7 separate regions of the Homo sapiens genome follow, and all the other regions are linked to region 1. Evidence: promoter capture Hi-C in 16 types of primary human blood cells and fetal thymus (Javierre and others, 2016). All regions are on one chromosome and are shown on one strand. Each heading gives the region's core, a stretch centred on a gene start or on the middle of the fragment in contact. The rest is flanking DNA. Distances are from core to core; before and after follow the strand shown. Region 1 holds the start of RGS10 (regulator of G protein signaling 10). Region 2 overlaps MCMBP (minichromosome maintenance complex binding protein). Region 3 has its middle 3.6 kb from the start of GRK5. Region 4 overlaps GRK5 (G protein-coupled receptor kinase 5). Region 5 overlaps GRK5 (G protein-coupled receptor kinase 5). Region 6 overlaps GRK5 (G protein-coupled receptor kinase 5). Region 7 overlaps MCMBP (minichromosome maintenance complex binding protein).

The links. Contacts are between HindIII fragments. The CHiCAGO score rates a contact against its expected background, and 5 or more counts as called.
Region 2: a contact is called between a fragment that was not itself captured here and the fragment with the promoter of RGS10 in region 1, in 7 of 17 cell types (total CD4 T cells, activated CD4 T cells, naive CD4 T cells and 4 more). The highest score is 10.5, in total CD4 T cells.
Region 3: a fragment that was not itself captured here is called in contact with the fragment with the promoter of RGS10 in region 1 in 11 of 17 cell types (non-activated CD4 T cells, naive CD8 T cells, total CD4 T cells and 8 more); the score reaches 16.7 in non-activated CD4 T cells.
Region 4: a contact is called between a fragment that was not itself captured here and the fragment with the promoter of RGS10 in region 1, in 1 of 17 cell types (total CD4 T cells). The highest score is 5.5, in total CD4 T cells.
Region 5: a contact is called between a fragment that was not itself captured here and the fragment with the promoter of RGS10 in region 1, in 1 of 17 cell types (non-activated CD4 T cells). The highest score is 6.6, in non-activated CD4 T cells.
Region 6: a fragment that was not itself captured here is called in contact with the fragment with the promoter of RGS10 in region 1 in 11 of 17 cell types (non-activated CD4 T cells, total CD4 T cells, activated CD4 T cells and 8 more); the score reaches 13.5 in non-activated CD4 T cells.
Region 7: a fragment that was not itself captured here is called in contact with the fragment with the promoter of RGS10 in region 1 in 2 of 17 cell types (total CD4 T cells and total B cells); the score reaches 6.6 in total CD4 T cells.

The regions. Positions count from the first base shown.
Region 1 is chr10:119,539,945-119,544,021 of GRCh38, reverse strand. It overlaps RGS10 (regulator of G protein signaling 10), which reads left to right and starts at 1,303. Exons shown (of 5, transcript NM_001005339.2): 1 at 1,303-1,432. The coding sequence starts at 1,384. RefSeq lists enhancers at 1-48, 311-390 and silencers at 601-760, 811-880, 891-1,630, 1,681-1,850. The HindIII fragment of the contact is 10,649 bases long and covers 1-4,077 here.
Region 2 is chr10:119,863,443-119,867,419 of GRCh38, reverse strand. The region is part of intron 1 of MCMBP (minichromosome maintenance complex binding protein); the gene reads left to right. Among named protein-coding and RNA genes, the nearest start is that of MCMBP, 7.4 kb to the left of the region's middle. The HindIII fragment of the contact is 780 bases long and covers 1,786-2,565 here.
Region 3 is chr10:119,202,126-119,205,789 of GRCh38, reverse strand. No RefSeq gene overlaps it. Among named protein-coding and RNA genes, the nearest start is that of GRK5, 3.6 kb to the left of the region's middle. The HindIII fragment of the contact is 1,703 bases long and covers 839-2,541 here.
Region 4 is chr10:119,281,225-119,284,822 of GRCh38, reverse strand. The region is part of intron 1 of GRK5 (G protein-coupled receptor kinase 5); the gene reads right to left. Among named protein-coding and RNA genes, the nearest start is that of GRK5-AS1, 56 kb to the left of the region's middle. RefSeq lists an enhancer at 3,229-3,598. The HindIII fragment of the contact is 8,364 bases long and covers 1-3,598 here.
Region 5 is chr10:119,256,132-119,260,188 of GRCh38, reverse strand. The region is part of intron 1 of GRK5 (G protein-coupled receptor kinase 5); the gene reads right to left. Among named protein-coding and RNA genes, the nearest start is that of GRK5-IT1, 50 kb to the right of the region's middle. The HindIII fragment of the contact is 6,652 bases long and covers 1-4,057 here.
Region 6 is chr10:119,219,647-119,223,476 of GRCh38, reverse strand. All of the region lies in intron 1 of GRK5 (G protein-coupled receptor kinase 5), which reads right to left. Among named protein-coding and RNA genes, the nearest start is that of GRK5-IT1, 13 kb to the right of the region's middle. RefSeq lists an enhancer at 593-1,104. The HindIII fragment of the contact is 2,279 bases long and covers 851-3,129 here.
Region 7 is chr10:119,844,818-119,848,641 of GRCh38, reverse strand. MCMBP (minichromosome maintenance complex binding protein) reads left to right here. Exons shown (of 16, transcript NM_001256378.2): 8 at 929-1,029. Among named protein-coding and RNA genes, the nearest start is that of MCMBP, 26 kb to the left of the region's middle. The HindIII fragment of the contact is 2,562 bases long and covers 885-3,446 here.

The sequences.
Region 1 (4,077 bases), core at 54-2,553:
GGAAACAACAAGCAACCACCGGCCACACTTGGGGTGCAACTGGGGCTGTGGGGTGGGTAGAGGGAGAGGGAAAGTGAGCAGAACTGGAAGCTCAGAATAGAAGATACAAAAGAAAGTGCCAAGTAGTGAAAAAAACTGCAAAAGGACGGGGGGATGGGGGGAGGGCGACTGGGGAACGGTTTGGAAAAATAGCAATTAGTACAGCTAAAAATAAAGACCAATTTAGAGACAAAGCCAGATACACAAGGAGAAAAATAAAACTCGCCAGAAAGACAATTTCTTGCAAACCAAATGTTCAAGAAAATGGGGGCTAATGACATCCCCTCTGGGGCTGCTCCATAGAAGAAATGAAATAATAGGAGACCGTAGAGCGCGCAGCGCCCAGCAGGTGACGCCGTGGGGGCTTGAGTGGTCCCGGTCGTGGAGCCTGAAGGCCCTGCCAGAGGCAGTGCCCACGTGTCCCCAAAGTTAGAGAAGTGTCCCGAGAGCGCGGTGTGCGGGACAGAGCACCGCCCGGCGCAGGAACCGGGGGGTTCCTGCAGAATCCTCTCAGATCTCCCCGAGTCCTGGCGCCCGCGCGGCACGGCCGGGGAGAGGGCGCCCACCCGCGGCGGCTCGGCTAGCTCAGCGCACGGGCCCTGGGGACGCCCCACCCGCATTCGCGGGGCGGGAAGGCGCAGCGCCCACGAAGTCGAGGAGCAGCCAGGCCCCAGCAGGCGGGGATCCTGGTGACGAGGAGGCAAAGGCCACAGGCTGGGCCGCGCCCGGACTCTGCAGAACCGCGAGGCCTAGGCTTCCCAGCCTGTGACCCGGGAGGGGACCCCGCCCGCCACCTGCGAAGGCTCGCTGAGAGCCCCGAAGCGCGGTGCGCCCGCGGCGCCGTGCCAGTTTCTCCGGGGCTACAGGGAGAAGGCGGGAGACCGCGATGGGCCCGGGAGCTTGAAGCTGGGCGGGGCGGGCCGGGGCGGCATCTCAGGCGAGGGCCAGGGACCCCGGGACGCGCTAACCGCCTCCGCGGGGCTACTAAGTTCCCGGCGGCGCGGGCTCCCTCTGGGCCAGTGCACCTTATCCCAGGCGCGGGGCACACTCTGGGCGATCGGGGGTCACCCGGGGCTGCCCTGCCCTGCCCCGCCCGGGCACCCCGGAGCGGAACCGCGAGTCCTCACCAGCGGGGGCGGGCAGGGCGCACTGAGCGCGCCACGCGGCGCCTGGCTAGGAGGAGGGCGGCGGGCGGGGACCTAGAGCTCCGGGGCGGTGCTGAGCCCGCTCCTCCTCCTTGCCCTCCTCCTCCTCCTCCTCGCCCTCCTCCTCCTCCTCGCCTTCCTCCGGCTCAGCCGCCGCGCCGCCGGGCTGCTCCTTCTTCCTCCTCGGGCGCCCGCGGCGATGTTCAACCGCGCCGTGAGCCGGCTGAGCAGGAAGCGGCCGCCGTCAGGTAAGCGGCTTCGGGGGCCCGCGGGCTCGGGGTCGGGGCGCCGTTTCGCCCGCCCGGCCTCCTGCCCTCCCTCTTGTGCTCGGGCGCGGCTCGGTGGTACCTCCCAGACTGGAGCCCCGGCCGACCGCACCACCTCTCCCCGCTGGGTACCGCACCTTCGCGGTCCCAGCCGCGACGGGAGCGCAGAGCTCCTCCGGGAGCCCCGGGGAGGAAGTTTGGCTGAAAGAGGAACAGCCGCAGTTTTCTTTTTAGTGATGGTCTGGGAGAAAAAGGAGCGCCCCAAATCTCCAAACTTTGGAGGTGACATGGGGCTCCAGATTCCGAAAGCGGAACGGCGCGCGGGCTTCTCCCTCCGTGACGCTCTCCGCCTCCGCTGCGGGCGTGGGTGGAAGGATGCCGAGCGCCCGGGGGAGCACGGCTGGACCCGGGCATCCGACTGGGCCCCTGGGCCTGGGGCGTCGGGGGCCTTCGCTTCTGCCGCGAGGAGCCAAAAGGTGGGATCGCGAGGGTGGCGGAACCCCAGGATGGAGAAGGGCACTTCTGCGGTCCGAGCCAGCGAAGTTCTGACGTTACGAAGGATTCGCCTTGGCCGTCACTTTGGGCCAGCCTGAGCCACGATCTCGGGCAACTTGATAGGCCAAAGACCCCACGGTGAAGGTGGAGCCGTGCCCTTGATTCCGGTCCTTCCACCCTTTTGCTCATCACAATAGCTACGACCTGTGCAGGCCTTTGGGTGCGCCAAGGGCTTTGTCCACCGCGTTGGGTGAACTCTCCCTTCACCCCTAGGACAACCCGGTGAGTGAGGAGGGAGCGGAAGCCAGGCGCTGTTAGGTAACTTGCCCCAGTCACACTCCGCAGGTGATGGGGAGGCTTTCAAACCCAGGTTCCCCTGACTCTGAAGTTCGGGGGCTTTGCCGGGCTTCCCACGCCAAGATTCACTTCTGCTTGGCGCTCAGAGTCCCAACGCGTTGGTGCATTTCCTTTCTGCTCCTGGTATTTTATGAGGGACATTGTGGTTTAGAGACTGGGACCAGACTGGCTGGATCCGAATCTCACCTTCGCCATATTCACCAGCCGTGGGACCTTTCTGCAGAATGAGGTTCTGCACAGTGGGAATAACAGTAGCTACTCGCCTTTTAAAGTACTTAATTGGAACCTGTCTTCCATCCATCAGGTTTTGCAAATTATTGTATTTAATATGTAGGATTTCATAGGGTTGTTGTAATGATCTTACATTGTTGCCCGGCAAGTACTAAGTGCTCCGTTAGCGTTAGTGGTCATGTAAACCTTTTTGTGTTGCATGTGAGTCAAAGAATTCCCTTGTGGGTGTTAATGTTAACCAGTCTCTATGGTTGGCACAGGCCTGTGGAGCGCTGCTCAGAGCCTGGACTCGAATTAAACTCTTGGTTCTAACCTTGACTCTGTCATTCAGCAACACTGGGCAAATTACTTGATCTCTCTGTGCCTCCGTTTCAGTGATGTGCTGGAGCTGGCTCAAACTGGCTTGCAAGAGCCAGTTGCCAAATATTCAAAAAGTTTGGAAACTGGTTGTAAACCATAGGTAGCTTGAAAGTAGTTATGATGGGATATTTACATCATGAAAATCAACAAAGCTAAAAATGAAGGCTTCATTTTGACTCAGGAGAGCTGATGTTCCAGCACCTTTCTCCACCTGCAAAGTGGGTTTCATAGGGTTATGGGATTAAATACTCAAAACCATATGAAGCCCCTAGTACAATGTGTGGCACATAATAAAAGTGTAATAATTAGTAGCTTTTCTCCCTTTTGCCTGTTATAAATAGAGCTGCTATGAATAGCCCTGTACGCGTTACTTATTACTTTAGATTGCTTTTGGGTTGAAGACTGACAGATAGAACCATTGTATCCTGGGAGATACATGGATTTGGGGTGATTTTGCGTGTAGCCAGGTTGCACCCCAAAAAGGCTGAAGGCAGTTTTAGGGAACAAATTATTTCAGGGCAACAAATTTTAAACCTCATAAAATGTGGTTACATCACTGACAGAAAGGTCGGTCTCAGGCCGGGCTCAGTGGCTCACACCTGTGATCCCAGCACTTTGGGAGGCTGAGGCAGGAGGATTGCTTGAGCCCAGGAGTTCCAGATAAGCCTGGGAAACATGGCAAAACCCCGTCTCTACAAAAAAATTAAAAAATTAGCCAGGCATGGTGATGCGTGCCTGTAGTCCCAGCTCCTTAGACGGCTGAAGTGAGAGGATGGCTTGAGCCTGGGAGGTTGAGGCTACAGTGAGCTTAGATCGTGCCACTGCACTTCACCCTGGGTGACAGAGTGAGATCCAAAGAAAAGGAAAGAAGGAAGGAAGGGAGGAAGGAAGAAAAAAGGAAGGAAGGAAGGAAGATCAGCCACTAAACATCATGGATTGGTACTGGATGCCTCCACTCCAATAGCCTGATTTTCTTTGGAATTGTAGGTGTAGGGTCTTTCCCCATTATGGAAAATAACATAAGTTCTTGCCTGACTGGTCATCACCACCCAGCCGTGTGAAAAGAAGAAGCCTAGTGAGAAAGGGGTCATTTGGGCCTGTGGGCCGAGGTACTGAGAAGACAGCCAAGTGATTTTTGGGACCCTGTACTTAATTTTTTTTTTTTTTTTGTAATTTTGAATTAT
Region 2 (3,977 bases), core at 926-3,425, 320 kb before region 1:
GTTTTTAAGTTATAATAACTTACACATGGTTTTAAAAAAAATCAACATGATGGTATGAACTGAGTGAAAGTACGTGCTCCCTCCATTGAAGTAACCACTTTTTTTTTTTTTTTTTTTTTTTTTTTTTGAGATGGAGTCTCGCTCTGTCGCCCAGGCTGGAGGGCAGTGGTGCGATTTCGGCTCACTGCAACCTCTCCCTCCCAGGTTCAAGCGATTCTCATGCCTCAGCCTCTTGAGTAGCTGGGACTACAGGCGACCACCACCACACCTGGCTAATTTTTGCATTTTTAGTAGAGTCGGGGCTTCACCGTGTTGGCCAGGATGGTCTCGACCTCCTCTGCCCTCGTGATCCACCACCCTCGGCCTCCCAAAGTGCTGGGATTAGAGGCATGAGCCACCGTGCCCTGCCTGAAGTAACCGCTTTTAACTGTTTTTGCTTTTAGAGGTTTTTTTCTTTGAGACAGAGTCTCGCTCTGTCACCCAGGCTAGAGTGCAGTGGCACGATCTCTGCTCACTGCAACCTCTACCTCCCAGGTTCAAGCAGTTCTACTGCCTCAGCCTCCCGAGTAGTTGGGACTACAGGCGCCTGCCACCACACCCAGCTAACTTTTTGTATTTTCGTAGAGATGGTGTTTCACTATGTTGCTCAGGCTGGTCCAAAAAAATTTTTTTTCTTTGAAATAAAATTCACATAACAAAATTTAACATTTTAAAATGTACAATTGAATTTTTTTTACTGTATTCATAATGATGTTGTGCAACCATCACCACCACTATCTTTTTCTCTTTTTTTTGAGACGGAGTCTCACTCTGTTGCCCAGGCTGGAGTGCAGTGGTGCAAACTTGGCTCACTGCAACCTCTGCTTACCGGGTTCAAGCGATTCTCTTGCCTCAGCCTCCCAAGTAGCTGGGATCACAAGCATGCACCACCATTCCTGGCTAATTTTTGTATTTTTAGTAGAGACGGAGTTTTACCATGTTGGTCAGGCTGCTCTTGAACTCCTGATCTCAGGTGATCCACACGCCTCGGCCTCCCAAAGTGTTGGGATTACAGGCATGAGCCACCACGCCCGGCCACCCCTATCATTTTCATCACTCCAAAAAGAAACCCCATACCTTTAGTAGTCTCTCCCATTTCTTCTGTCTTCCATCTCTGGCAACAACTATACTTCTGCCCATGGATTTACCTATTCTGGACGTTTCGTGTAGGTGGAATTATACAACATGTGGCCTTTGAGGTCTGGCTTCTTTTCATTTACCATGATATTTTCATGGTTCATCCATGTCATAGTATGCATCAGTACTGCATTCCTTTTTTTTTTTTTTTTAAGAGATAGAGCCTGGCTCTGTCGTCCAGGCTGGAATGCTGTGTGGCAAGATCATGGTTCACCGCAGCCTTGAACTTCCAGTCTCAAGTGATCCTGCAGCCTCAGCTTCCTGAGTAGCTGGGACTACAGGCATGTATTACCTGTATTACCACACCCAGCTAATTTTTAAATCATTTTTTGTAGATTTGGGGTCTCACTATGTTGCCCAGGCTACACTCAAACTCCTGGCCTCAAGTGACCCTCCCGCCTCGGCCTCCCAAAGTGCTGGGATTACAGATGTGAGCCACTGTACCCAGTCTGCATTCCTTTTTATGGCTGAAAATAACATTCCATTGTATGTCTATACTGCATTTTGTTTATCCATATATTTGCTGATGGACACTTAGGTTATTTCCTGGCTGTTATAAATACTGCTACTATAAACATTCATGTACAAGTTTTTGTGTGAATGTAAGCTTTTTGGTTCTTTCCCAGATATACCTAGGGATGGAATTGCAAGGTCATATGATAATTTTATATTTAACTTTTTGAGGAATTGCCAAACTTTTCCACAGTGGCTGCACCATTTTACTTCCCAGGTTCAAGCAATTCTCCTGCCTCAGCCTCCCAAGTAGCTGGGATTACAGGTACCACCAGCAAGCCCAGCTAACTTTTGTATTTTTAGTAGAGATGAGGTTTCACCATGTTGGCCAGGCTGGTCTCAAACTACTGATCTCAGGTAATCTGCCTGCCTTGGCCTCCCTAAGTGCTGGGATTACGGGCATAAGCCACTACGCCTGGCCTAAAATGTTTTTAAGAAAGGTTGTGTGAGAAGAGAACAAGAGGCACATTATATAATGTTAAAACAGTCAGTTCACCAAGAAGACCTAACTATATATGCACCAAGCAACAGAGCTTCAAAATGTATGATGCAAAAACCAGCAGAAATAAAAGAAGAAATAGGCAAATCTGCAATTGTAGTTAGATATTTTACTACTCCTCTCTCAGTACTTGACAGAATAGTGGGTAGAAAATCAAAAAGAATACTGAACAACACAAAACTACACAACACTGTCAACCAAGTAGATCTAATTGACATTTGTTTACCTAATGACAGCAGAATACACATTCTTTTCAAGTGCACATGTAAATTCACCAAGATAAACCACATTCTGGGTCATAAACCAAATAGTAAACTTTATATATAAGAAGAACACTTCTAAACAATCCATGGATTAAAAACTCTCAAAGGAAAGCTTTGAATATTGTGAACTAAACCAAAATGAAAACTCAACATACCAAAATTTGTGGGATACAGCCAAAGACATGCTTAGATGCATTAGCTGCCTTAATTAGAAGAGAAGGTCTCAAGTGAATAATTTAAGCTTCCACCTATGAAACTAGAAATGAAGAGCAAAATAAACCCAAATTAAACAGAAGAAAGAAATAATAGAGAACAAAAATCCATGAAATAGAAAACAGAAAAAAAAGAAAAAATCAGTGAAACTCAAAGCTCTTTAAAAAAAAAATCAATAAAATTGTAAACCTCTAGCCATACTGGCAAAGGAAAAAAAAAAAGGAAAACAAATTACCAATAGTAGAAAAGAAAAAAAGGAAGACAAATTACCAATATTAGAAAAGAAAGAGGAGATAACCACCGTAGACTGTACAGGCATGAAAAGGATAATACAAACAGCTCTACAGATAGAAATTCATCAACTTAGATGAAATGGACCAGTTCCTCAAAAACCACTGTATTAGCTTTCTATTTCTCCTGTAATAAATTACAAATGTAGTGACTTTAAAACAAAAGGTTTTTATTTACAGTCCTGGAGACAGAAGTCTGACATGGGTCTTACTGGGATAAAATCAAATTGTTGACAGGACTTGCATTCCATTGTGGAGGCTTTAGGAGAGAATCTGTTCCTTTTCTTTTCCTGCATCTAGAGTCTGCCCACATTTCTTGGCTTGTGGCCCCCTTCCGTTTTCAAAGACAACAAGTCGAGTTGTTCTCACATCTTACTCTAACTTCCTCTTTTGCCACATCCTTCCACATTTAAGGACCGTTGTGATTACATTGAACCCACCCAGATTGTTTTTTTTTTTAAGTTCAACTGATTATTAACCTTAATTCCATCTGCTACCTTAATTCCTATGTAACATATCTTTACAAGTTCTGGGGATTAGAACATCAGTATCTTGGTTGGGTGGGAGGGGGTCATTATTCTGCTGATCACAGCCACAAACTATCCAAACTCACCCAAGTAGAATAATATTTCACCTTTTACGTCTGGCTTATCTCACTTAGCATAATGTTTTCAAGGTTTATTCCTGTGTCTTCGTTGCTTTTTTTTTTTTTTTTTTTTTTTTTTTTTTTTTTTTTTGAGTCTGAGCCTCACTCTGTCTCCCAGGCTGGAGTGCAGTGGTGCGATCTCAGCTCACTGAAACCTCCGCCTCCTGGGTTCAAGCAATTCTCCTGTCTCACCCTCCCGAGTAGCTGGGATTACAGGCGTGTGCCACCACGCCCGGCTAATTTTTGTATTTTTAGTAGAGACGGGGGTTTGCCATGTTGGCCAGGCTGGTCTTGAACTCCTGACAGGTGATCCGCCCGCCTCGGCCTCCCAAAGTGCTGGGATTACAGGCGTGAGCCACCCCGCCTGGCCCTCGCTG
Region 3 (3,664 bases), core at 441-2,940, 340 kb after region 1:
TTTTGAATGCCTTTAGATGGCTTATGCACCTTAACAATTTTCTTGGGCCGGGCGCGGTGGCTTACGCCTGTAATCCCAGCACTTTGGGAGGCCGAGGCGGGAGGATCACGAGGTCAGGAGATCGAGACCATCCTGGCTAACAGTGAAACCCTGTCTCTACTAAAAATACAAAAAAAAAATAGCCGGGCGTGGTGTTGGGCTCCTGTAGTCCCAGCTATTCAGGAGGCTGAGGCAGGAGAATGGCGTGAACCCGGGAGACGGAGGTTGCAATGAGCCGAGATCGCGCCACTGCACTCCAGCCTGGGCGACAGAGCGAGACTCCGAACCAAAAAAAAAAAAAAAAAAAAAAAACAATTTTCTCAAAGGTTGTTTTTGTTTGTTTTTTTGTTTTGTTTTGTTTTGAGACAGTTACTCTGTCACCCAGGCTGGAGTGCAGTGGCCCAATCTCGGCTCACTGCAACCTCGGCCTCCCAGGTTCAAATGATTCTTGTACTTCAGCCTCCCAAGTAGCTGGGATTACAGGTGTGTGCCACCATGACTGGCTAATTTTTGTATTTTGAGTAGAGACGGGGTTTCGCCATAATGGCCAGGCTGGTCTTGAACTCCTGGACTCAAGTGATCCAACCCGCCTCTGCCTCCCAAAGTGCTGGAATTACAGGCATAAGCCACCATGCCTGGCTCAAAGTTTCATGAGCATACAAATCACGGGGGATCTTGTTAAAATGCAGATTGCATTTGGATAGATCTGGGGTGGTTTCTGAGATGTTGCTCTTTCTAACAAACTCCAGGGCTCTGTCGATCCTCGTGGTCAGTAGACCACACTCAGAGTTGAAAAGCTTTCTAGTTTACCGTAACTCCCTATTGTCTTATACCCAGCCCAAGTCACTAGTGATTTTATTTATCTGGCCTGTATAGACATTTAAGTTTTCCATCCTGGGAACCCCTGCCTCTCCCTCTCATTTTACAGATGTGAAACAGACCCAAAGTAAGTGAGTTGGCATGGTCACTCAGCAAGTTAGTGTTAGACTATTTTTTTGTCCACTACAAGCTGTTGCATCCTGCCTACACAAATACATGGTTGTACATCAGGTTTTTGTGCCTCTATGAGGAAATTCAGACACTCCAATGCAAGAATGGAACAATAATGGCTAGCATTTACTCAACACCAACTGTGGGCCAGGCTCTTGTGGTCTTTTAAATGGATTATCTCCTTGAACACAATATCCAGATGAGGTAGGGAACACAGGCCTATTTTATAGATAAAGCACCAGGTTAAGAAAGGTTTTATAGGCCGGGCACGGTGGCTCACGCCTGTAATCCCAACACTTTGGGAGGCCAAGGCAGGCAGATCACCTGAGGTCAGGAGTTCGAGACCAGCCTAACATGGTAAAACCCCGTCTCTACTAAAAATACAAAAATTAGCTGGGTGTAGTGGCAGGTGCCTTGTAATCCCAGCTACTCGGGAGGCTGAGGTAGGAGAATGACTTGAACCCGGGAGCCAGAGGTTGCAGTGAGCCAAGATCATGCCATTGCACTCCAGCCTGGGCAACAGAGTGAGACTTTTTTTTTTTCCTCAAAAAAAAAGAAAGGTTTTATAATTTGTCCAGGGTCACATAAGTAATAAGTAGAAGACCCGGGATTTGAACCTGTCAGCCTGACTCAGAGTTGGTGCACTTAATTTCTGGCTTGCGCAAGCTAGCCAGCACAGCTTGGTAGTAACTGTTCTGTGTGGCTGCCGGGATGAACTTGTATTATAAGAAGGCAAAGCACCCAGTTGACTAAATCATTAAGATTTCAAGGGGTTTTCCATTTTCATCTATAATTCCACCATTATGGCTTTATTCCTTTCAATTAACTGCACTAACAACTCGTGGTCTTCTTGAAAAATGGGTTTGATTCAAGGAAGAGTAGGCTATTAAATATAAATAGCTAAGTAGGGAATCATTGACAGCCAGCTGAGAGCAAGAAGGGAAATCCAAATGGAGGAGTGGGGGTGAGGATGGAGGGATGGGAATATGTCAAAGACAGCCAGCTTCAGACTCCACTCAGGAGCAGCTGAGCCAAAAATGCAAAAGAAGTCAGATGCAGTGGCTCATGCCTACAATCCCAGCACTTTTAGAGGCTAAAGCAAGGGTGCAGGGGATGGGGGGGTGGAGATCGCTTGAGCCCAGGAGTTCGAGACCAACCTAGGCAACATAGCGAGACCCTGTCTCTACGAAATAAACCTAAAAATTAGCCAGGTATGGTGGCACTGAGCTATGATCGCCCCACTGCACTCCAGCTTGGGTAACAGAGTAAGACTGTCTCTAAAAAATAAAAAAGCAAAAGAAACAGGGAACCTTCAAATTCTTCTCTCAGCACCTGTATCTGCCATGAATAAAGCTGCTGGGTCAGAGTTCTTGTAAATAGAAGTCTACTATGCTGGAAAGCCACAAACCTATCGGCCTTCTAAAATATAGATTCCTTTTGCCTGAATAATCAAATTGGCTTTCTGAATAGTCCAGGAACTGGAGTTTCCATTCCTTTCCTTGACTCAAAGCTTTTTAATCCTCAGGAAGCAGCTGCAGATAGAGCTTCCATTCTCTCATTTATCCTCTTCTCCTTCAGAGTTTACCTTTCTGTGTCCAGCCCTGCAGGGAGTTCAAGGCAATTTCCCAGGGAGCTCGCCACTGGGAAGGAAAACACACCGGATGCAAACAACCTCCATACAATGGAATAAGGGCCATTGTGGAGACACACACAAAGGACTTTGCAAACGGGAAGAAGTGATTTCAGGCACCAAAAGAGGAGAAATGTGAGCTGAAAGCAAATCTGGAGGCTTGAGGTTTCCAGTTAACATTTCCTCCCCTCTGAATTCCCTTCATCAATGGACCTCAGTGGTTATCAATTGGACATTAAAAGTTTTACTATGGGCAGGGCACAGTGGTTCACGTCTGTAATCCCAGCACTTTGGGAGGCCAAGGTGGGCAGATTACCTGAGGTCAGGAGGTCGAGAACAGCCTGGCCAACATGGTGAGACCCGTCTCTTCTAAAAATACAAAAACTAACCAGGTATGGCAGCGTGCGCCTGTAGTCCCAGCTACTCAGAAGGCTGAGGCACGAGAATCACTTGAACCCGTGAGGCAGAAGTTGCAGTGAGCCGAGATGGTGCCGCTGTGCTCCAGCCTGGGCGACAGAGCGAGACTCTGTTTCAAAAAAAAAAAGAAAAAGTTTTAACATGTTGTAAACTGCCTATTGCTCTTCTAGTGACTTCATATTTTTCTTTTTTTTTTTTTTTTTTGAGATGGAGTCTCGCTCCGTTGCCCAGGCTACAGTGCAGTGGCATGATCTCGGCTCACTGCAAACTTTGCCTCCTGGGTTCAAGCGATTCTCCTGCCTCAGCCTCCCGAGTAGCTGGGATTACAGGTGCGCACCACCACACCTGGCTAATTTTTGTATTTTTAGTAGAGGTGGGGTTTCACTATGTTGACCAGGCTGGTCTTGAACTCCTGACCTCAAGTGATCCACCCACCTCGGCCTCCCAAAATGCTGGGATTACAGGTGTGAGCCACCATGCCCGGCCAATATTTTTCTTTAAAGTCAGCTCACTTTGAAAACTTTAATTCATCCTAACCAATAATATTTGTGAAATGTGAGGAGTAGTAGAAGTGTCATGCTTGAGAAA
Region 4 (3,598 bases), core at 893-3,392, 260 kb after region 1:
AGCCTTGCATCCAGCACTCACACTTGGGAGAGACACGTGGTGTCACTGGCAGCCCAGTACACAGGCTCAGGCCTGACCCTCCACCTCTGTCTGTTAGGCCCTTTCATCACCTCCTCATGCTTCCCACACCTCCAAATGGCTAACAACTCCCAATATTCACCCACTGACGACTGAGAGGCCACAGCAGCCTGTTCTGCGCCAAAGCCCCTGGACACAGAAGCTGAGGAGCACTTGAGATGTGGCTGGTGGGAGTTCAGAGGTGCTCTGAGGTAAGATAAACTGGATTGTAACTGCTTAGCATAGAAAAAGGAATGTAAAATATCTTGTTAATAATTTTCATATTGATGGTGTACTAAAATGATCATTTGTACATATCGGATTAAATAGCCGGGCTCAGTGGCTCACATTTGTAATCCCAGCACTTTGGGAGGTCAAGGTGAGAGAACTGTTTGAGACCAGCCCAGGCAACATTTCTACAAAAAAGAAAAGGATTTTTATATTAATGATATACTAAAATGATAACCATTTGCAGATACTGGATTAAATAAAATATATTATTAAAATATTATTAAAATAATATCAGTTGTTCCTCTTTTACTTTTCTAAAGGTGGCTACTAGAATTTTTTCTACTTCATAAGAGGCTCACGTTTATTTCCACTGGACAGCGCTGGCCTAGACAGTGGCTCTGACATACACCATCTGGGCCCAAACCTCAGCTTCCTTGACTGGTTGTTTGATGTTGGGCAGGTTTCATTTCCTACCTGTACCCAGCTTCCTCCTCATCTGCCCACAGGGGATCCGAGTACCGAAGTACACTGCCCAGAGCTGGGGAGGAATCAATGAGATCAGACAGATGTGCAGTTACCACAGTTCCTGGCTCTCGATCCATGTTGGCTGCTCTTGCTCATTCAACAGATACTTTCTATCTCCCTATGACATGCCAGGCTCTGGGGACACAAAGATGAACCTTGAAACATTCTCTTGCCAGAGTTATCCCCAATTTAGGCTTTGAAGGGCCAGGCTCACGTCTCAGCTTTGCTACTACCTATGTGACCTTGAGCAAGCCACATTTTGGGGAGTGGGGCTCATGGTCCCATCTGCAGGGTGACCCTTGATGACTCTGGGATCTCAGGGAAGCCATCAGCATTAGAAAGCAGAAGAAGGCAATGTTCCCAGAGGGCAGGTGTCTGAGCTAGCTCCACCCCAAGGCCTAGCCTCCAAGGGTACTTGCATTTTTGCCAGAGACACCATCAGCACTGGCCAGGGAATACAGAGCCCGGGCACGGGCAGGCGTTCCTGAAGCCTGGAACTCAAGGCCTCAGGAACGTGTATGTCTCACTCCTTCCCTGCAGCCTCACTCCTATGTCCTCATTTCCCAGCCTAGAAGAAGGACTTGCAGGGCTTGGAGGGGTGCAGGTTAGGGGACGAGGTGGGAATGGGGTGTGGATTCATTTTCACAGAAGCCTCAAAGTCAAATACTTCATCTCATCTCCAAATGTGACCATGTTGAGCTGCAGGGCTGGAGGACACTCCCGTCCCATCACAGGTCCACCCAGACTGAGCACACTATGAATTAATATTTCCTATAAATCCTAGCATTACCTTGTGACTAGACTAATTATATTGCTATGTTGTTTTTGGTTTAAAAAAAAAACACCATCCTGACAAAGGTTACCAGTTTAAAATACCATAATATTAATATTTATAGCTTTCTTAGGGCATTTTAATTGTTTTAATGAACTGGAAGCCTCAAAACAAAACCAAAAAACTGAAAGCAGGCCAGGCCCCTTATCAGCTCTGAAAGGCCCTGAGATGTGCCCCAACTCTGCAGCAGGACCAGGCCCCAGTGACACAGTAACTCAGGGCCTAGAGGAGGGACTGGATGGGCCAGCAGCCTGGAGAACTCCACAGCATCAACTGGGCGACTGTCACTCCTCCGGCCTCACCTAGTCCTGCTTTCTCACAAGGCCTCACCTTTAAGACAAGACATTCATGTTGGGCAGGAGAAAGCGCTCAAGAGCTTCTAGAAGCCTCCCGGAAGCCTCTGGGGCCCCCGCCAACCCTGGACTCTCCTGACAACTCCTGGGATCTCACCTCCACTCCAGGTAGTTCTGTGCCCAGCTGCTGACCACCAGAGCAGGAAGCTGTCACAGACCACCGGGGCCAACCCTTCAGGCTCTGGGGAGAAACCTGGACCCACAGGGGGCCTTGATCCATCTGCTCGATAGTCCATCTGCCCATGAGCCCATCCAGGGCCGCAGCACACGCCTCTCCTGCCCCAGCCGGAACCCGACCCTGGTCTAGGAGCTGAGGACACAGCAGTGCAGACACATCAGGTTGGTGAGGGAGACAGACAAGGAAAACAGACTGTTACAAGACAGCCTGGTGAGACGGGCTGCCAAGGAAAGGGGGAAAACTAGCAGGGGGAACAGCAGCACTGGGGCCAGAGAAGTGTCTCCCATCCCAGCAAGAGACAGCTCTGCTGCAGTCTGGAGCTCCAGGAGGAACTGGCCTGGTGAAGACCTGGGAGAATGGTCCAGGCTCAGAGAAAGGTTTGTGCAAATCTAGACTGTGAAAGAGACAGCCCAGTGCTCACTCACGATACTAAAGTAATTTAGGGCCCCAAAATGTGAGTGGGGGGAGGAGCAAGTGAAGTCAGTGGTTTGGAGAGTGCAGCTTGGGTCCGAACTCAAGGAAGAGGTGCTGTGTGAAAAGGCAAATCACAGCAGGGCACACTGGCATGGGGAGATCACACAGAAAGCGACAGTGGCCAGCAGAGCAAGAGACGCAGACCAAGGAGGGGAGGGCAAGGGACAGATGCCCAGGAGGGAGGTCACCAATGGCAATGAGAAACAGGATAGGCTCAACAGATGTCTCCAGGATTTCTGCTTGGGTGACAGGCCACTCAGGCTGTTGTCTGTGCAATGAGATCACGTCTTAGAAATAAGAGATTTAGTCTTTACCGAATCCATCTACAAAGCTAAGTAGCAGCCTGGTTCTCCATCACTGGTTCACAGCAGGGACATTCAGCCAGCTTCTCAGCCACCTCGGGGGATCGGATGACTTGATGGCCTGGCTCGGGGATGGCAGTGCTCAAGGGCACGCTTCCAAATGGGCAGGGGCCCAAGAGAAGAGGCGGCCAACCACCACCCCGGGAACCCAGGGCAACCTGCCAGCTTCAAAGGCTCAGCCGTGCTAAGACCCGAGGTCGGCCAGATCCCTCCCTGTGAAGAAGATGCCACCACAGGAGAGGCTGATTACAGAACAGTGGCTCAAATACAGGCTGTGTGGTCACAAGCATCCGCATACAAGCACCAGGGGTGAGCCGTGCACAGACATGGCCAAAATGAACGAGCCATCACCACTTCTGGGTGCTCGACACCTAATGGGAGCTCAAGAGCAGGGGAGAGGAACAGGAGAGCTCGGGGCAGAGACTGCCAACCCAGGGTAGTTAGTAAAGTAGGGTTAGGGGGGTCCCTGGCCAGACCCACAAGAACTGCTTTGGGAGCAGCCGGGAGGAGCAATTTTTTCCCAAGGAGGCAGTGAAGGCAGCATGTGCAGAGTCCCTGAGAGGAAGGTGAAGAGGTGTCCATGTGA
Region 5 (4,057 bases), core at 230-2,729, 280 kb after region 1:
TCTACTAAAAATACAAAAAAATTTAGCCGGGCATGATGGTGGGCACCTGTAGTCCCAGCTACTTGGGAGGCTGAGGCAGGAGAATGGCATGAACCCAGGAGACAGAGCTTGCAGTGAACGGAGATCGCTCCACTGCACTCCAGTCTGGGCAACAGAGGGAGACTCCGTCTCAAAAAAAAAAACAACTGATCTCAAGAGAATGTTATACCACATTATTTAGTGGAGAGAAGAGGCCAAGAACATGACAACTTATGTTCATAGAAAAAGCTGTTCGTGAATGCTTATAGTGGCTTTATTCATAATCGCCAAAAACTGGGCCCATGTTCTAGAGCTATGCTGTCCACTATGGTAGCCGCTAGCCATATGCAGCTATGTGAATTTAAATCTTAATTTATTAAAATTAAATGAAATTAAAAACTCAGTTCCTTGGTAGCACAAGCCACACTTCAAGCACTCAATGGCCACACATGGCTAGTAGCTACCATAATATACAGAACATTTCCATCATCACAGAAGGTTCCATTGGACAGCGCTGCTCTGAACTCTCTGACCCACTTCCCTGGTCACAGCTGGTTGGCCCAGGGCAGGCCACTTGACCCAAGGGCAGCCAACAATGACTGGTGTGCCTACCAGATGACTTAAATTGAGGGCTCTGTCCAAGAGAAAAGCAGTGACTAACTCACCAACCAATTTTTCTCTCTTTGGGGTGTCAACATTCAGTTAGCTGGTAGTGGGAACATATGAAGAGAAACACAATGAGCAGAAAGTATGATGCAGAAAAGGAAGCCACCAGTAGACAGAGCCAAGATGAAAGAGGGAGTGTTAGGCCGGGCGCAGTGGCTCACGCCTGTAATCCCAGCACTTTGGGAGGCTGAGGCGGGAGGATCATGAGGTCAGGAGATCGAGACCATCCTGGCTAACACGGTGAAACCCCGTCTCTACTAAAAATACAAAAAATTAGCCAGGCGCGGTGGTGGGCGCCTATAGTCCCAGCTACTCGGGAGGCTGAGGCAGGAGAATGGCGTGAACCTGGGAGACGGAGCTTGCAGTGAGCCGAGATAGCACCACTGCAGTCCGGCCTGGGCGAAAGAGCGAGACTCTGTCTCAAAAAAAAAAAAAAAAAGAAAAAGAAAGAGGGAGTGTCATGGAAAGAGGATGGAAGGAACCGCTATCACCTGGGAAGAGTGCCCTGTCACTGTTGCACCTGGGCCAGACTTCCAAATACCCTTCACCTGAGACTGGCTGCCAAAGCCAGCAAAGCCAGCTCTCCTGAGAAGGGGGCAGGCTGGAGTGCCAGGGAATTGACAAGACTCCCGCAGGAGCCCTCAGTCAATAACTGACAGGGGATGGATTCTAGAAACTAGGCTTCCTGCCTGATGACATACCCTTTACCAGCTACCTTCCTTTTCCTCTCCCCTCTCCACTCCCCTGCTGGAGGTGGGGGGAGTTTCCTGGCATTGACCCCCGGATAAACTACTTACACTCAAATCATTGCACCAGAGTCCACTTCTGGGGAACCTAAACTAAAACAGGCAAGGGAGGCAGAGTCTTTGTTCCTTGCAATTAAAACGCCAAGCCCATATTGCCTCTGATCAATGTGAGAGCCTAGAACATAATGAAAGATAATGAATGCTCATGCATCACTGTTGAGAATGCAAGACGGTACAGCTCTTTGGAAAGCAGCTTGCAGGTTTCTTATAAAATTAAACATACACCTACCATGTGACCCAGCAATCCCACTCCTACATATTTACCCAAGTGAAAAGAAAACTTGTGTTCAGAGAAAAAACTGTTCGTGAATGCTTATAGTGGCTTTATTCATAATCACCAAAAATTGGAAACAACCCAAACATCCTTCAATTGGGGAATAAACAAACCCTGAACTCTTGCTCAGAAATAAAGGGAAACTGATACACATAACAACACAGACAAATCTCAAATACATTATGCTAAGTGAAAGAAATCAGACTCAAAAGGCTACACTCGGTGTGATTCCATGTATATGACATTCTTGTAAAGACAAAAAGCAGACCAGTGGTTGCCAGGGGCTGGGGCTAGGAGTAGGAGGTAACTACAAGGGAGTCTGGGGGAGTTTCAGGGGGTGATGAAAGTACTCCTGATTGTGGTGGTAGTTACATGACACCATGTGTACTAACTACGTGGTGTACACAGTTACAACACGCAGAACTATGCACTTTTAAGAGGCAGATGTTACTGTATATAAATTACATTTTCACTAAATAAATGGGAAAAAAATAAAAGAGAATGAAGGCAACACTCTGAGCAAGGACCCCAAAACATGATCTTAGACTAGCTGTGCCAGAATCCTGTCCTTGTCACAGCCAGGGCATAGCCATAACTGAGGAGCTGCACACAAGTCGGAGGCACCCCATCCACAGCGCCTTTTCACCAGTGGGCTCAGCCACTTTGCCCCAGCACTTTTTTGGGGGTTGTTTTCTTTTGTTTAGACAGAGTCTCGCTCTGTTGCCCAAGCTGGAGTTCAATGGCATGATCTCGGCTCATTGTAGCCTCCACTTCCCAGGCTCAAATGATTCTCCTGCCTCAGCCTCCTGAGTAGCTGGGACTACAGGCATCCGCCACCACACCTGGCTAATTTTTGTATTTTTAGTAGAGACAGGGTTTCACCATGTTGGCCAGGCTGGTCTCAAACTCCTGGCCTGAAGTAATCCACCCACCTCCGCCTTCCAAAGTGGAGGATTATAGGTGTGAGCCACCGTACCCGGCCCCTGCCCCAGCACTTTTGAAATAGACATACTCCCTCCCACCTGCGATGGTGCCACCCTCACTGAGGCGTGCCACCAGGGAGTTATATCAGACAGGGGGGCCTATGGGAGAGAATGTTCTCTTTTCCATTTCAGAATCACTGCTTCCGTGTTTCCAGAAGCCACTTGGAAAACATGTCAAAATACCCAGCCTACAGGTGGAGAACACTGACCAAAGTTTCCATTAGAGAAATTAAAAATAAGAACACTCCCCAAAGAACTCAAGGGACAGCAGGAGGCTGTAACTGAAGTTAAAACGAAGGTAGCATCAGTGGATGAGTGGATTAACAAATTGTGGTACATCCATCCAATGGAATATTATTCAGCCACAAAAAGTAATGAATCACTGATGCAGGCTGCAACATGGATGAACCTTGAAAACACTATGCTACGTGAAATTAACCAGATACAAAAAGCCACATATTGTATTATTTCATTTACGTGAAATGTCCACAATAGATAAATCCAGAGACAACCCAGATTGGCGGTTGCCAGGGACCGTGGTAGGGGCAAGTGGGAAGTGATCGCTATTAGATCCAGGGTTTCTTTTTGGGGTGATGGTGATGAAAGTGTTTTGGAATTAGATAGTGGTGATGGTTGCACAACATTGTGAATGTACAAAGACTATTAAATTTACACTTTAAAGTGGAGAATATTATGGTACGTGAATTATCTCTCAATAAAAAGAGGGGGGATGTTCCAAAGCAAAATATTCATTACCAGAGACACAGTCACGACCTCAGAGATAGAATAAAGAGGCGACGGGTGAGGGGTGGGGTGCAATAGGGGTGAAGGGTGGGGTGCGATAGAGGTGAGGGGTGGGGTGCTGTGGCCCAGGGCCTCCCCTTCCCACTCCATGTACCCAGAGAGCAGCAGGAAATACTGTGTACAGGAGGCAGCAGGGCCTGGTTGTTACTCAGCTGTGTGAGCTCCAACAAGTTTCCTACATTCTCTGAACCCCAAGGAGCCTTTCTGCAAAGAGAAGAGTAGGCCTAGAGGATGGAGGATGAGGGACCAGGGGACAAGAAGTGGCTGGCGACTACCGGAGCCAGGACTCCAGACTCCCACCTGCTGGTTTCACGCCCCCTCCCAAGCTCCCAGGCTGGTGCTGTGAGGTGTGTGGGGGGGTCCGCCCAGAGGGAAAGGCAAATCTGGCCGGGAATGCAGAGTCTCCACAGGAGTCGAGGCCACTGAAGGGCAGCCCTGCAGGCAGCGAGAGGGTGGCTCTGGGAGGCTTTCCTGGGACAGTGTGCAGTGGAGGCTGGGCCAAGACT
Region 6 (3,830 bases), core at 741-3,240, 320 kb after region 1:
CGCCTGGTTCATCCTCAGAACCTCCTGTTTTAAAAATACAGGCTATCCCCAAAAGCTGCTGCTTCAGTACAGGCAGGGCCTGTGTTCCAGGGTTCACTGCGTCCTCCAAAGAAGATTATGTTGAAGTCCTAACCCCCGGTACCTCAGAATGTGACTTTATTTGGAAATAGGATCTTTATGGAGGTAATCAAGTTAACATGAGGTCATTCAAGTGGGCCATGATCCAATAGCACTGGTGTCCTTATACAAAGGATAACTCTGGACACAGGGACAGATGCACAAGAGGAAGACGCACAGGGAGAAGACAGCCACCAACAAGCCAAGGAGAGAGGCCTGGAACGGGTCTTCCCCGGGTACCTTCAGAGGGAGCACGGCCCTGCACACACCTTGATTTCAAACGTCTGGCCTCCAGAACTGTGCGACAATAGATGTCTGTTGTTCTAAACCACCCAGTTGGTGGCACTTTATTACGTATCCCTAGGAAACACACAGCCTGGGGATGGGTGTTAGAGTTGCAGAGCTGCCCTGGAGGAAAATCCAGGCCAGGGGACCCATCCTGCTTTGGAGCCTCTTTCTGCTCCTGCACGGCCACCCATGCGGGCCCCTTTTGGCCCTCAGATCCCTTCTTTGCGGAAGGAAGGAGCTGGCTTCAGTGTGAGGAGCTCCCTCCCACACTCTGACAGGACACGGAGCCCGTAGCCTCAGCACGCAGTGAAGGGGCAGCCCTTCCCCATGTAGAGCTAGCTCACACATCTGCAAATGTTTCCCAGAAGAAAATGCCATTCTCCTCCAATTGTTAACAAAATTACTGAAGGCCGTGGGGCTCTGGACTATGCCCTCATGCCAAGCTTATCTCGGAGGGAGGCAGAGCAGGAGGAGGGGCCACTGATTTGTTTTGTGTGGTGCTGTTTTTAATGGGCGTTTTCTATTCTCAGGTGGGAACCGTAGGGCCCTTGTCTAGGTAAATTCCATGCAAACCTTTAGTGAAAGCAGTTACCAGAGGAAGAGCTACAGAATTCCACAGAGGAGGATACTGTGCCAGATCAAAGACAGGGCAAATGACCTCAGGAGGACTGACACCAGCACAGGCAGCACTTGGAGGGGATTAGGAAGGGGCGTCCCTTCCTCAAGACACTTTCTGCCCCCCGACCTGATACATTTACACATCTACCAGCTTTAGGATGGGAACAATGGCTCCCTAGAATTGTACAATGTACAATGAAACGCAAAAGCTCTCAAACACGAAAAACGAAGCAATGGATTGGCACCACAGGAAACAAGGGGAAGTGGCTCCTTGGTATGTGATCTTGGAAAACCACTTCACCTCTCTGAGCTTGTTTTCCTTCTTTCTCAAACTAGAATAATACTAACAGCAACAGCAAAAACAATTCCCAGGCCCACAGGGTTGTGCTGATGATCCACAGTGAGAGATCCAAGACACCTTACGAAGCTGTGGGCTTGTTTTCTGAGTGTACCCCCTGCCTGATTTACACATGCAAAATCCAAGGGCAACTGAAAAGTCATCTACAACTAAAGTCTTTGACTGAACTCAACCTTAATTTCCCTAATTCAAACTTTGAATACCATAGAAAAGATGACTCATTACTCAGAGGTGAGGGATGTTAAGTCCCAAAGGTCTCAGAAATGTCATGTCACATGTATCATGCTCCTTTCTCATAAGAAAATCTACATTGTACATCCCTAGGGTCACTGAAGCCTATTTCACAAATTATTATGATTCTTCCCAAAGAGGAAAGGGGATGTTATTAGGCAGATACTCCCACAGGAAAAAAACAGAAGTCTTTAAAATAAGTGCATAAAGATGAATATATCATGGGTAGGATATTCCTTTATATTATCTTTAAAAATTAGAGAATTTAAATGGCTCATTCTAGGGGCTTGGTTAAATATATTATAAAACTAGTCAAAGACAATGAAAAACACAGACCCCTTTAGAACTGGATAACCCCTAAGAGTCTGCTAGAACATACCCAGCATTCCATTGAAACAGCATTCAGCTTCCAAAGTCTTTCACAATTTTTCCTGACACCCATCCATTTCATGGGAAACTATAAACACAGATATGGAAAGGCTCTGCAGCATATTGTGGACTGAAAACAGCTGCGGAACAGTGTGTACACTGGGACCCATTTTGTGTAAAGTTCTATCTAGATGTTCGTATGTGCATATACAGAGATTTGGGAAAACGTTCACCTACATGCTGACGCTAATTATTTCTGAGTGGTGGGATTGGTAGCAGGGGTGCATGGGAAGACAGAGAGAGATGCTTTACATGGTCCTTTGGACTTTTTTTTTTTTCCGAGATATAGTTTTACTTTGTCCCTCAGGCTGGAGTGCAGTGGCACGATCTCGGCTCACTGCAACCTCCGCCTCCCGGGTTCACGCCATTCTCTCCCTTCAGCCTCCCGAGTAGCTGGGACTACAGGCGCATGCCATCACACCAGGCTAATTTTTTTGTATTTTTAGTAGAGACAGGGTTTTGCCATGTTGGCCAGGCTCTTCTCAAACTCCTGACCTCAGGTGATCTGCCAGCCTCAGCCTCCCAAAGTGCTGGGATTACAGGCATGAGCCACCACTTCTGGCCTGGACTTTCTTTAGTGAGTATTACCTTTGCAAATTTTTTTTTTTTTTGAGCCTCTGTCACCCAGGCTGGAGTGCAGTGGCGCGATCTCAGCTCACCACAACCTCCGCCTCCCGGGTTCAAGCGATTCTCCTGTCTCAGCCTCCCAAGTAGCCGAGATTACAGGCGCGTGCCACCATGCCTGGCTAATTCTTGGATTTTTAATAGAGACGGGGTTTTGCCATGTTGGCCAGGGTGGTCTCAAACTCCTGACCTCAGGTGATCCACCCACCTTGGCCTCCCAAAGTGCTGGGATTACAGGCATGAGCCACCATGCCTCGCCTCTGAAATGTTTTTAAGCTACCAAAAAGACTAGCAAAAATACCAAGGACCATGATATAGAACAGTCACCACTAGCCACTGAAGCATAAACTAAGAGGTGCACCTGAAGACTAGCCCTCACCTCCGTAACCCATGGAACCAACCAAGGAAATCGGGTTTCTCCTTCCTTAATTTATATTTTGCTATATATTATAGAGAATTAAGCTTTAATTTGTAAAAATCCCTCTAATTGGATACTGCTGAAGGGAAGACATCTGGGGCAAATATCTAGGCCTGGTGCATTCCATCCCAAGCAATGGTTAGTGGTTTGGAGAATAAGTGTGCGGCAAAATAACCAGTGGTTACTAATTATTATATATCACAGGGCTTGGCACCATCCATAAAGCCTCATCATGTTGGCCTCTTCCTCTTCAGAGAGGATTACAGAATTGACTGTTTAGAAATTTTTCCTCCAAGTTAACATACGTTTTCCTTGTCTTAATTGGATCCAGCCTCCCTGCCCATGAGCAGAAAGGCAATTTTTCTTTAACGATTACATCCTTCAAATGCCAGGTCATCAGCCATCCCTAGGTCTGGAAGGATCAAGCTGCTTGGCTTCCTCTTTTCTTTCCATTTGCTCAACCTCATTCTAGCAGTTATGTGAAAAGCATGTGAAGCTCACATCGAAAGTTACCTTCGATTTGGCCAAAAAAGGGATGAGTGTTATCGGCATGAAACATCTCCTCCTACTCACACAGAGCCTCAGAAATGGGGAGAACTGTTTGCCCCAAATGTTTGGTCTAATGCAAATATTTATTTCTTCCAAAACGACTAAAACAAACCACTTCCAAATTAGGGGGGAGGGGGAGTTTGCCAAACATTTTTCAGAGTTAAGACAAACATTTGGAAAACATTTTCCAATTTGCCC
Region 7 (3,824 bases), core at 916-3,415, 300 kb before region 1:
GTTTTTGGGGGGTTTTTTTGTTTGTTTTTTTGAGGCAGTCTCACTCTCTTGTCCAGGCTGGTGTGCAGTGGCACGATCTCGGCTCACTGCAACTTCTACCTCCTGGGTTCAGGCAATTCTCGTGCCTCAGCCTCCTGAGTAGCTGAGATTACAGGCATGCACCACCACACCCAGCTCGTTCTTTATATTTTTTGTAGAGATGGGGTTTCACTATGTTGGCCAGGCTGGTCTCGAACTCCTGACCTCAAGTGACCCACCCACCTCAGCCTCCCAAAGTTCTGGGATTCCAGGGGTGAGCCACTGCACCCAGATTCTCAGTGGTTTTAACTGAAATGACACTTAAGTCATATGGCACAGGGACCAAAATTACCATTTTTTCCCCTGCCTTGCTTCTACCAGGTCTAATCAGTAAATGGCCTTGACTATTACTAAGTCCATCATGACAGACAATTTTGAAAGGTTTTTTTTTTTTTTTAAATTGTGAAAAATCTTCTGGCCATTCCAAGTTTTGTGTTAATCCGATGTTGCAGTTTATGAATAAATGCAAAGTTAATCATCTTGTTTTTGTTTTTTCCTTTTCTTGGTGTGGTTTAATAGGTTTTGAGATAGTGCACAGTTCTAGTTTTAACTGTCAGCCTTTGGGAAAAGGCTTTTTTTAATTTTAGGAAAAGCCTTTTTTTTTTGTAGTACTGTGGTATATTGAAAACAGACATTAGTCTGGAAGTTAGGCATCCTGTGTTTTGGTTTTTCACTTATTTGCTAACTAGCAGAATGACTCTTGGTCTCAATTTATAAAAATTTATAAAATAAAGGACTTGCTTTAAGGTCTGTTTCCTGATCTAAAATTCCAAGATATTGGTACTTCAAGACTAATATCTTAAGCTTTGTGTCTGTTCTAACAGTGTGATTTCATGTGGTCTCTTGTTAGGTTTATGAAGATTGGGATTGTTTCAAAGTAAATGACATTCTTGAGCTATATGGCATACTGTCTGTGGATCCTGTGCTGAGTATACTGAATAATGATGAAAGGTGAGTCTGTGTGCTCTTTTTTTGGTCTCCTTTATTTTTATATAATTTCAAGTTTTCAGGAGAGTTACAGGATGGTTTTAAAGAACTCCCTTTTCCCTTTCTCCCAGATGTACCAGTTGTAAACACTTGCACCCCATGTGTTTTGTCATTCATTTGTGCTCTCTATGCACACATTTTTCTGAAACACTTGAAAGTATGTTGCAGAAATCAAGCCCTTTTACCCCTAACTGCTTGTCAACATTTCCTAAGAGTACTGACTTTCTCATATATAATTAGAGTACAGGTATCAAAACTAGGAAATTTGCCACAAATATACAATACACTAATCCACAATCTATACTTAATTTCACTAATTGTCTTAATCATGTTCTTTCTTACACGTCTCCCTTCTGCATCCCCCAGTCCAGGGTTCAGAAGCTCGCTCATTCTCTATTTCTACTGAGTTCATACTGTATTTCTGATTCCAGTTCAGCACCACAGGTGTCGTTCTGCTTGTTCTCCTTTCTGTATTAGTGTAACTCTCTTAAACTTGATTCCCATTTTTCACAATCTTATCATTTGCACATTTTTACAACATAGAGAAGGGAATTTCAGAATTGTTAACTCATACCTTTACAAAACATAAACCTAAATAACTAGAGTTCAATCTGAAACAGTCCTCAGCCTTTGTCTTTCATGGTCTTGCCACTTTTTTTTTTTCCTTAAACAACAGAAATATATGTCTTCCAGTAGTTCTGGAGGCTGGGAAGTCCAAAATCAAGTTCCCAGCAGATCTGGTTTCTAGTGAGGGCCCGCTTCCTGGTTTACAGATGGCTGTCTTCTCACGTGGTAGAGAGCAGACAGCCTTGATGCTTTTGAAGAGTGTAAGCCAGTTACCAGTTACTTGTTTCCTCATGGTTAGACTCAATGTTTTGCATTTTTGGCAGGAATATTACAGAATTGATGTATCCTCAGTATGTTACAGCAGGAGGCATGCGATGTCAGTTTGTCCCTTTACTGGTGAGGTTAATTTTCATTAGTTGGTTAAGGTGGTGACTTCCAGATGTCTCTTCTGTAAAGTTACATTTCTCACTTTGTAATTGACAAGTAACTTGGAGGAAGGTACTTGGGGACATAAATATCCAGTTTCTCATTAAACTTTCACCAATTTATTTTAGCATTCATTGATGATTCTTGCTTGAATCAGTTATTACTTTGTTGGCAATTTTCTAACGCAGTACATTTATTTATTGGCATTCTACTATAAAAGATACCTCTTCCATTTGTTTATTCAAGTAATGTATTTACTTATATTTAGTATAGACTAATAGATTCTGATTTTATTCAATGTTAATATCATTATTTTATTTCGAGACCCAAATTTTCCCAGATTTGGCTAGTGGGAGCCACTTTAAGCAGGTGCCGGGTCCTTTTTTTGAGATGATGTTATCATTTTTTAACATTTATTTTCTGGCATATTAAGCTGTTGCAGCTTCATCGTATGCTTTGAAGATCTGAGTCCTAGATGTGCTCGTTGGTACTGGATTAGATTTGCATCTAGGCCCTTAAAGTAGACAGAGCTAGGATACATGCAGCATATGGATACATATATACGCACCCACATTTAAATGCACACATACACACTCACATGCATGTTTTGTGTATTTCTAATGTCTGTGAAAAACCATGGGTTCATATTTCTGATTCCAGTTCAGCACAGCAGGAGTCACATGTTCTAGTTGTTCTCCTTTCTATATTTATGACTTCTTTTTCTAACAAATTTGATTCCCATTATTCACAATCTGTTGTTTCCCCATTTCTACCATATACAGAAGGGAATTTCAGAATTGGTAACCCATACCACTACAAAACAGAAACCTAGTAATTAGAGTTCAATACATTTCCAGTTCATTTTTATTTTAGAATGCAGCTGTGTAGTCAGAGCTATGTTCCACTTACTCAGGTAACTTTTCTTCCCCTTCAGTGTGATTTCATTATTTATTTTACTTAGAAAGATTCTCAGAGGTGTCATTCTCGGCTATCCCCATTCCTGCTGTCTGTTCCCACCCAGCCTCCTTAGGGAACCACAGTTTCTGGTTTATCCTTCCTGTATTTATTTTTTTACAAAAATATGAAGATACGTATACATTTTATTTCTACCTTTTTCTTCTATAAAAGGTAACATGGTATATATACTCTTACACTTTTTAATTTTTTTTATTAACAACATATCTTGGAAATCTAGACCTTCCTCATTCATTTTTGTTTTGTTTTGAGATTGCCAAAAGCAAGGGCTGATGTCCCTCATCTACACCAGAGTCCTCTTGTTGAATACCGGACATTAATCATCTTAGTTTCTGTGTAGGATGAACTTAACATTTTTCACAGTTAAAAAAAAATGGTACAAAACAAAAATTTTAAACAACTTTAAATAAGCTTAACCGTCCCTTAATAATAGTATATGAGATTGTTCATCTTGGCAATTTCTGATTGTGATGACTTTCCTGCTTTAGTTACTTCACTATTGATGTAGTTTAGTTTAGAGGTTGTATTAGGGGTCTCTAAAGGGTCAGAACTGATAGGATAGATGAATATATGAAGGGGAGTTTATTAGGAGAATGACTCACATGATCACAAGGTAAAATCCCACAATAGGCTGGGGAGCAAGGAAGCCAGCCTGAGTCCCAAAATCTCAAAAGTAGGGAAGCCACCAGTGTAGGCTTCAGTCCGTGGCTGAAGGCCTAAGAGCTCCTGGTGAACCACTGGTGTAGGTCCAAGAGTCCAAAAGCTGAAGAACTTGGAGTCTGATGTTTGAG